2 separate regions of the Homo sapiens genome follow, and region 2 is linked to region 1. Evidence: promoter capture Hi-C in 16 types of primary human blood cells and fetal thymus (Javierre and others, 2016). All regions are on one chromosome and are shown on one strand. The core of a region is centred on a gene start or on the middle of the fragment in contact, and the rest is flanking DNA. Distances in the headings are between cores, read along the strand shown. Region 1 holds the start of LCE3E (late cornified envelope 3E). Region 2 holds the start of SPRR2G (small proline rich protein 2G).

Region 1 (4,097 bases), core at 1,391-3,890:
ATCAGCCATGGCACACTCTTCCCTGGGGGCAGGCCTTTCACCCCCTTCACTGTCCCTGGGTGAGAGCTCTCTAGTGATTTCAAACCGAACTTAAACCAATGGCCCAAAGCTGTGCCTCCTGCTTCAATTTCAACAAATTTCTCTCTTTTTTTAAATACCTATTGGTGCGTATCTGAATATCTGATATTAAACTTCTCTCAGGTTCTTTTTTTTTCTTATTTTTGGAGGTGGAGTCTCACTCTGTCACCCAGGCTGGAGTGTAGTGGCACAATCAGCTCACTGCAACCTCTGACTCCTGGTTCAAGCAATTCTGCCTCAGCCTCCTGAGTAGCTGGGATTACAGGTGTCCACCGCCACGCCCAGCTAATTTTTTGTATTTTTAGCAGAGATGGGGTTTCACCATGTTGTCCAGGCTGGTTTTGAACTCCTGACCTCAAGTGACCCACCTGCCTTGGCCTCCCAAAATGCTGGGATTACAGGTGTGAGTCACCATGCTGGGCCTCAGGGTCTTTTTGATCCCTAAATTTTAAGAATTAATTTATAGGATTTGACAAAATCCTTTTTTAGTTCAATGGACTTATAAGGTTATCCATCTTTATTTTTAATGCCCCCCCTCCACCTGCTCTACTTAGCCCTCACATCAACTTCTCTTAGTATTTGTAATTTGACTGTAGCTCTACGTGACACTTCTCTGGTTTTCTGGTAGTCAAAGTGAGATGTTACTCTTAGTTCACATAAAAAAACATTCCTTCAACCCCAGGAGCATCTCAGTCTCACAATTTAGGCCAAAACATGTGACTCCATTGAAGTTGTAACTTCCATGTGTTGATGTCAAGGTCGTGTAGTTACAAAATTAATAATTTGTTGCTTCTTTGGTATATCTATTTATAATTCCAGGAACACTTCTCATTTTCTGCCTTTTTCTTTTTCCTAAAATTCTCATTTTGCACATTCCAATAATCTCATTGAGTAAACTCCCAGCCACATCTCTGCTCCATTATCTCATTAATTTAAGCACCTCTCTCAGCTTTCATCTCTCTCCCTGGATTTTCAGTCACTGAGTTATACTTCTTCCCAAGGCTTACATCTCTTCCCTCCATCTTTTGATTCTGCTTCTCTTCTGCCTATTTTCTGCTTTTTTGCCTTTTGATTTCCGGTTTCTTAGTTAGCACTCCAGAAACAGCTCATCAAAACAAACTAGTGGTCTTCTGTCATACACTGGAAATTCCCCAATTGTATTAATGTCCTCTCAGATTTTACAGGAAAAGTCAATTTTTGCACTGATACCCTCTTTGAGTTTGAGGTTGAGTTTCAGGGCCTCAAACCAGCACAACCTGTGTCGTTCTCTCCCTCCCACTACAACATAAAACTCTCCCCTTCCCTTCCATCAGTGGAGCGGGGTCGGATCCACTATGTTTTCCTGGTGCAGAGATAAGGTTTGGCTCCTGAGCTGGGTTGTACTGACCAAAGAGCTGAGGAGAGAGACTGTGAAATGCCCAGTGGGACGCTGGTGGTAATGAGGACAAGGAACTTTATCTTTTTTACGAGGTTGGGCACAAGCACTGCCAATCCTTGGCAGGTACAGGGGTAGGGGGACATATGACATCCTGTACATAAAACAAGAAGTGCCTTCTGGGGAGAGCTCAGATCCCCCACAGGAAAACCTCCAGCTCAGCCTGTGAAAGTCAGAAGAGGGTATATGGGAAGGCATGCGTCAGATGGGGCTGTTCTTGGCCTCTTGGGATTCTTGTTTCCTCCAAAGATCGCTTGTCTCAGCATCAGGATCTGGATCAGCAGCAGCCCCCAGAACCGTGGCAGCAGCCAGAGCCCCCGCCTTGCTGACCACTGCCCCTGTCACAGGAGTTGGACCTCTGGCGCCGGCATCGGTGGTGGCGCCTGTGGTGGTTCAGGAAGCAGCCGCCCTCGGAGCTAGGGCCACAGCCCCCAGAGCTTGGGGCACAGCCAGAGGAAGCTGGAGGCAGACACTGTACTGGGTTCTTTGGGGGACACTTGGGTGAGGGGCACTTGGGTGGGGGTTGGCACTGCTTCTGGTTCTGCTGGCAGGACATCTTGGCAGGAGTTGAGATGTCCTGGAGAAAACGAAGCCACTTCTTAGTTCAAAATCTACAGTCCAACGTCTCTAAGACCAGCTGCCTCCTGAGGCAAGAGCTGCAAGAGGGTGAGGGAAGCTGATGTGGAGCTGGTGGGATATGCCAGATACTTCTCACATTGCTCTCCACCCGGGACAGATTGCTGTGAGTCTAAGTGGGCACGTGTGTTTCTGTTTCTCCAAAGAACCCCTAGGGAATGCACCCTTTTGGGAAAAAGAATTCTGTAGAATGGATGTTACAGGAAATGTGCCTGCCTGAGTAGAAAGAGGATGGGAGGGAATTGTGAGCTCTGTGGCCTTTGCAGGTCATGGAATTGCTGTCAGTTCCTGCAGGGTCTCCCTCCTGCCCCCTTCCCCCATTGCTGCCCTCTCACAGTCCTGTATCTGGGTCTTTGTTTCAAACCTCTCTGTTTCCATCTCTTCTGCTATGGCCTTAGCTTTCTGTTCTAACATCCCATATCAAGCCCTGTCCCCTGCTGAATACTTACCAGGTGCAGAGAGGCAGGAGAAGGCTGTTCCTGAGGAGACTGTGGAGGAGCCCAGGGCAGGAGTGCTTTTATCCTGTGCAGGGTGTGTGATGCACAGGCTGGGCATGCTGCTGCTTTCACAACCAGGGGAGGTGACAGCCAGGCACACCCTTGAGACTATCCATTCATCACCTTCCTGTGTACTCACCAAGATGCCTGACAAGAGGGAACCAGGAAGGTCTGACGCCTGTTTACCTTCACCTCATTCAGGCCTGCTGGGGGTTGCAATCCTACCTTCCTTGAAGCAATTGTTTTTATCACCACTCATTAGTAGTCACTCCTTATTCCACATTGCCCCTCTGGCAACTAGTAATCAATTTTTTGCCTGTATGGACTTGCCTATTCTGGACACTTCATATAAATAGAATCATATAATATATGGCATTTTGCATTAGCTTCTTTCACTTAATATATTGTTTAAGATTTATCCATGCTGTAGCATGTGTCAGAACTCCATTCTTCTTTATGGTTGAGTAATATTTCACTTTATGAATTTAGCACGTTTTATTTAACCATTCATCAAGTGATGGACATTTGAGTTAGCTCCAATTTTTGGTTATTGTGAATAATGCAGCTACAAACTTAATCTTTATTATTTCCTTCCTCCTGCTTTATGTTTAGTTTCTTCTTTTTTTCAGTGTTTTAAGGCAGAAGGTTAGGTAATTGATTTGAGATTTTTCTTCTTCCTTAATGTAGGCATTTGCAGCCATGTATTTCCCTGTAAGCATTTCCTTTGCTGTATCCCATAATTTTTGGTATGTTGTATTTTTATTTTCATTCATCTCAAAGTATTTTCTAATTCTCCTTGTGATTTCTTTCTGAACTCATTGGTTGCTTAAGACATTTCTGAATTTTCCAGTTTTCCTTCTGTTATTGATTTCTAGTTTCATTCTCCTGTGGTTACGGATGATACTTTGTATGATTTCAGTGTTTTAAAATTTAATGATACTTCTTTTATGACCCAACAAATGGTCTACCCTGCAGAATGTTCCATGTGCAATTGAGAAAAATGTGTATTCTGCTATTGTGGTTGGAGTGTTCAACAAGATGTCTGTTAGATTTAATTGGTTTATAGTGTTGTTAAAGTCTTCAGTTTGTTGATTTTCTTCCTAGTTGTTCTTCCATTAATGAAAGTGGAGTATGAAAGCTTCAAGTATTATTGTTAAATTGTTTATGAGTTGTCTGTTTCTCCCTTCAATTTTGTTAGTCTTTGTTACATGTAATATGGGACTCCATTGTTAGGTGCATATATATGTATAATAATTATTTCTTTAATAGATATGGATCCTTTTGTCATTATAAAATGTCCTCTTTGTCTCTGCCATTAATTTCGTCTTAAAGTCTATTTCGTCCAGTATTGTATAGCCACTCCAGATCTCTTGATTACCATTGCATGGTGTATGTTTTTCTACCTTTTACTTTGAATCTATTTTGTCTTTGAGCCTAAAATGTGTGTCTTA
Region 2 (4,588 bases), core at 119-2,618, 580 kb after region 1:
CATTCACTTGGTGTAGTTAACAGAAGAGGTTAAAGACACGAAATGCAAACAAAAGCAATGTGGGCTTGACCATGAAACATGTGCTTTATTGGGGAGAAGCAAAAGAATAAACACACTTGCTCTCAGGATAGGAACCACCATCTACATCACAGACAGCAAAGCGAGATTAGGCAGTGATCTGGCTGCTCATCTTCCAACAACATATCGGTTTTCAGAACTAAGCCTTTTCTCTGTCAACGCTCAAGCCAGACAGAGGTTAGGGAAGATGCAGCCTCCCACTACAGCTGAAGGGAAGATGATGGAGTCCTGGGAGTAAGAAGAGCCACTGGATCTTGTTGTTTCATGGTCCTGATGAATTCTAGTGATGTTACTTGCTCTTGGGTGGATACTTCTGCTGGCAGGGTGGGTATGGTTGCACAGGAGGGCATTTATCCTGGCATGGTGGAGGTGGGCAATGCTCAGGTGGACAAGGAGGAGGCAGGTAAGGCTCAGGGCACTTCGGGGGTGGACATGGCTCTGGGCACTTTGGCGTGGGGCACACAGGAGGTGGCTGGCAGGGCTGCTTGCACTGCTGCTGCTGGTAAGACATCTCTCCTCAGTCTCAGAGAATCTGAAAGATACATACGAAACAGTGCTCATAAGAGAGACAGTCCTGTTGGTGGAGCAATTAGCTAGGACATCAAATCTCCAGTATCTAGGGACCAACTTTGATCCCTAATACAGTCTTTATGACTTTGTGAACCTTCTTCACACTTCACTTTTAGGACCTCTTACCCTCAGTTCTTCCGTCTTTCTGGCTGTTCTCTCATTCTACCATTTTCTGAAAATAAAATTGCCTATGAGACAGCAACAAATGTTGTCTGAATACAAACACTATCTGAAGAAGAAAAACTCAGATATTAAAAGTCTAGCCAATACCAAACAAATCTGTGCTCTTATCTTCCATGAGGCCCTAGTTACCAGTTTTAATGAGCTGGCTGTGGTGCTGAGCCATGAGTTTTTTAAGAGAATTGCAAAAACTTGCACCCATCACCCAAGGAGATTGCACTCCAAGAGAGATGTATTTGGAACAGATGTGAAGCAGGAGACAGAACAGCATCTTGTGTCTCTCACTCTCCTTCAGTTTAAGATTTTATATATTTGACTCCAGGTTCCTCATCACCTTCATGTTTATCTACCAAATACCAGCTAAAATTTACCTTCAAGACCTCATTATCTTCTTTTTCCTATCCATGAGGATAAATTGGTTAAAATAAACAGGCATTTCTGTACCCAGGTTAGACCCTAACACCATCCAAGTGCAAGAAAAGCTTCTAATATTTGTACTCACCAGAGTCTTCAAAGATCTACAACTGAATGGCAAGAAGATAGCATCAGTGTGGTGGAGAGTCCTTTTATAAGGGGCAGGCAGCCCTACACAGGGAACAGCCCAGGACTAGCATGATGTGCTTATTTCCCAACCAAAATACCACTTGCATGTAATCCATGCTGGTATCACAAAATTCCTAGTCCATGATCCTCCCCAGCAGGATAAGTGCACAGTGATTCACTTGGGACATTATCTCAGGTTCCTCATGCCAGTGGCAATTGTAGAACGTGACAAATTGTCTGACAATTGTGGTGCTTCCCTATAATTAGAGATGGTGCTTCTCCTACTTCCCAGCTTCCAAAGTATCCTGTATGTAAAACTACTCCCATTCAGTTGCACATGCCCAGTATCTAGCTGTGTTCTCTTTAGTAGAGACCAGTATGTGCTGATCCTGCAGCCTGGCTATATCCTAACCCTCAACTGCAGTTTTTCTTTACAACTAACTTCCCCTTTTATCATGGCCTATTGATCCTTAGGCTTTTCTTGACAATTAATTGACTTGAACAGGGTGACAAAATCATATATCAGCTTCCTAGATGCTGACAGCCCCAACCTGGGTGTGTTCTGACATGGTATTAATGGGCTTGAACAAGGCAACATCATCTCTCAGTTTTCTAGGCCATTAGAGTCATGTTGGGGCCCCTTCTTAAAGCTTCACATTTGCAGATTTACACACTAACCTCATCTCTGTGGCCCTTGTAACTATGAGTGACTTGTGGTCTACTAGAAATCCAAACTCATCTTCTCCCATTTTCTTCCAAACTGCCTTAATGTATGTGCTGCATCCATTTTGAAGCTTTTCTCCTACATGCTAATTCAATTTACTCCTTCACAATTTCTCTCTTTTGAAATGACATTTAGTAGGATTTCAGGCTTTCTTTGCACATTCGAGGAGTGAAGTTCTGTAAAGCTATTTATCCTGCTGTTTACTTCATGGATGTTTTTACCTAAATAAGTAAAGTATAGCTGGCACAGATCCCACGGATAATTTCTTAGTATAGCTTATTTAACCATATTAACACTTCAGCTAGTATTACTCACTGTCCCAACTTGGAAAAAACTTGAGTACCTTGGTTATGCATACATCTACAGCCACCACTACTGTGTGGAACTAAATATTTCCTAACCTCCTTGAAACACAGTTTACACAGCTGTAAAACAGAAATAAAAAATACACCTACCACAAAAGTCTCCTACAAAAACTCAAAGAGTGGCCTAAAATTATGCACATTACATAGTGGGTCTTCTAAGAAATATAAACTCTAAAATGTAGAAGAAATAAGAATAATAACTAATCATAACTAACCAATAATTTCAAACATGTCAAAAACAGATAATAAAGAATGGCATTGTTTAGAGTGAGGCCTATCTAGTGAAGATCCTTTCCCTGCATCCCCCATTCTTCTAGCTGTAGTCACTACTAATTAGACGGCATGGGTACCATAGCACCTACAGGGTCGGCACCTTGTTTTCCTGAGAAAGCCCCTCTCAGGGAAGATTTTTGCCTTGTGCTCTTTACCCAGAAGAATGCTGTGTTGTATCTGCAATGTTTCAAACTTGATTGGGTTGGTACAGTAGAGAAACAAAAAAAACTGAGGACCTAACATGGGAATTTGAAGAGGTAGGAACGTCTTTGAGTTGAGCCCTACTATTAAATTCTTTCTCAGCATCTCAGAGGAACAACATGAGGCTAGTTATCCCTCCCTAGTACTCTGAAACTAAACAATTTAGTCATCTAAGTTACTATCAGGAAACTGACACACTTCAGGGATGCCAGAAGGAACAGGGATGCTCCTGGGATGGGTGAGGCACTTTCACAGCGTTCTTTCTCATGTTGAAATCCTAGGAACCATAGCTGATGCATGCTGAAGAATTAGCTAAGGATTACGTGACTTAAAACAGTTCTATCAACACAATTTTAGACCTACTTTTCTTTGCCTCATGAATTACTAATAGATTCCAAAGTTATTTTTACCAATAAATTATTTGGTTTATCATTTATGCTTGATAAACTGAAGGAGGATTGGGCTTTTCAGAAAAGAATGCTTAATGAGGTTTGCCAGCTTCACAAAGGACAGTTTTTTTATAGAGAGAGAAAATAGCTAAAGGACAGATGATCCTCATTTTTCACAAATAATGGGCACTTGAAGCACTCTGTGCAAATTAAACCTCTGAAACTCACATAGTATCTACATGAGGGTTTGCTGGAGTTTACTTATAAACTAGTAACCGTGGTTATCTCAGGAGAATAGTTAAGTATCTAGGGAATAGGAGTGGGGGAGAGACTAACTTTTCACTGCATGACCATTTTCTTCTCTTTTGAATTTTGGTATCATGTATATTTTTTGCTTATTCAAAGTGTTTAAATATTTAAATGTTCAAAGATATTTTAAAATTGAAATAAATAAATCTGTGAGTAAATACTATGTTAGCAAACTGGCACTGTATAAACACAATGATTGAGTTAAGTCCTAATTAGGTGTGTAAATTTGAGCAATTTTCTTAACATTTCTGCAATTTTCAGTTTCTTCATTGAGAAATGGTAATAATAATACTTCTCTGACGGACATTTTTGTAAGGTGCAAATAAAATAAATAGTAAGCCTAGTAAAACAACCGTGTAAAGCTGGGAATTATGAGGCTGAATTACCTGGTCCCAAAGTTCCTGATTTGCCTAAAGATTTTGAAAAGAAGGACAAAGCTATTTTATGGGAGTCCCAGAAATGAAGAAACGAAGGAAGGTAGAGAGGGTAGAAGACAGGCGAGTGGAAAGAAGAGGAAAGGGGAAAGAGAGAGAGGATGACATTTCCCAAGGGCCATTTGATTTTACTTGATTTAACATTTATAGCCTAGTTCTTTAAGCTCCCAATAAAATTATTTCTATTTTAATAAATAAAGATATGCTGCTACTACATAATATGCCTTTAAGTTTTTGAGAATATAGAATTTAAAAATAATAGAATTAGAAATGAACAGAGATGGCAAGAGTGAGTGTCCTTGCTTTGCTCCTGATCTTAGAGGAAAAGCTTTTAATTTTTCACCCTCGAATATATTAGCTGTGGGTTACTCACATATGGCCTTTATTATGTTGAGATACATTTCTTCTATACCTAATTCGTTGAGTGTTTTAATCATGAAAAGATGTTGTATTTTGTGGAAAGCTTTATCTGCCTCTATTTAGATTATCATACAATTTGTATCCTTTATTCTGTTTATGTAG

What was found. The method cuts DNA at HindIII sites, captures the fragments that hold promoters and counts their contacts. A CHiCAGO score of 5 or more calls a contact.
Region 2: a contact is called between the fragment with the promoter of SPRR2G here and the fragment with the promoter of LCE3E in region 1, in 6 of 17 cell types (M1 macrophages, activated CD4 T cells, M2 macrophages and 3 more). The highest score is 8.9, in M1 macrophages.

The regions. Positions count from the first base shown.
Region 1 is chr1:152,564,140-152,568,236 of GRCh38, forward strand. LCE3E (late cornified envelope 3E) reads right to left here and starts at 2,641. Exons shown (of 2, transcript NM_178435.4): 1 at 2,599-2,641; 2 at 1,515-2,090. The coding sequence starts at 2,069. The coding sequence ends at 1,791. The HindIII fragment of the contact is 4,975 bases long and covers 1-3,782 here.
Region 2 is chr1:153,149,522-153,154,109 of GRCh38, forward strand. SPRR2G (small proline rich protein 2G) reads right to left here and starts at 1,369. Exons shown (of 2, transcript NM_001014291.4): 1 at 1,331-1,369; 2 at 61-610. The coding sequence starts at 589. The coding sequence ends at 368. The HindIII fragment of the contact is 711 bases long and covers 1,309-2,019 here.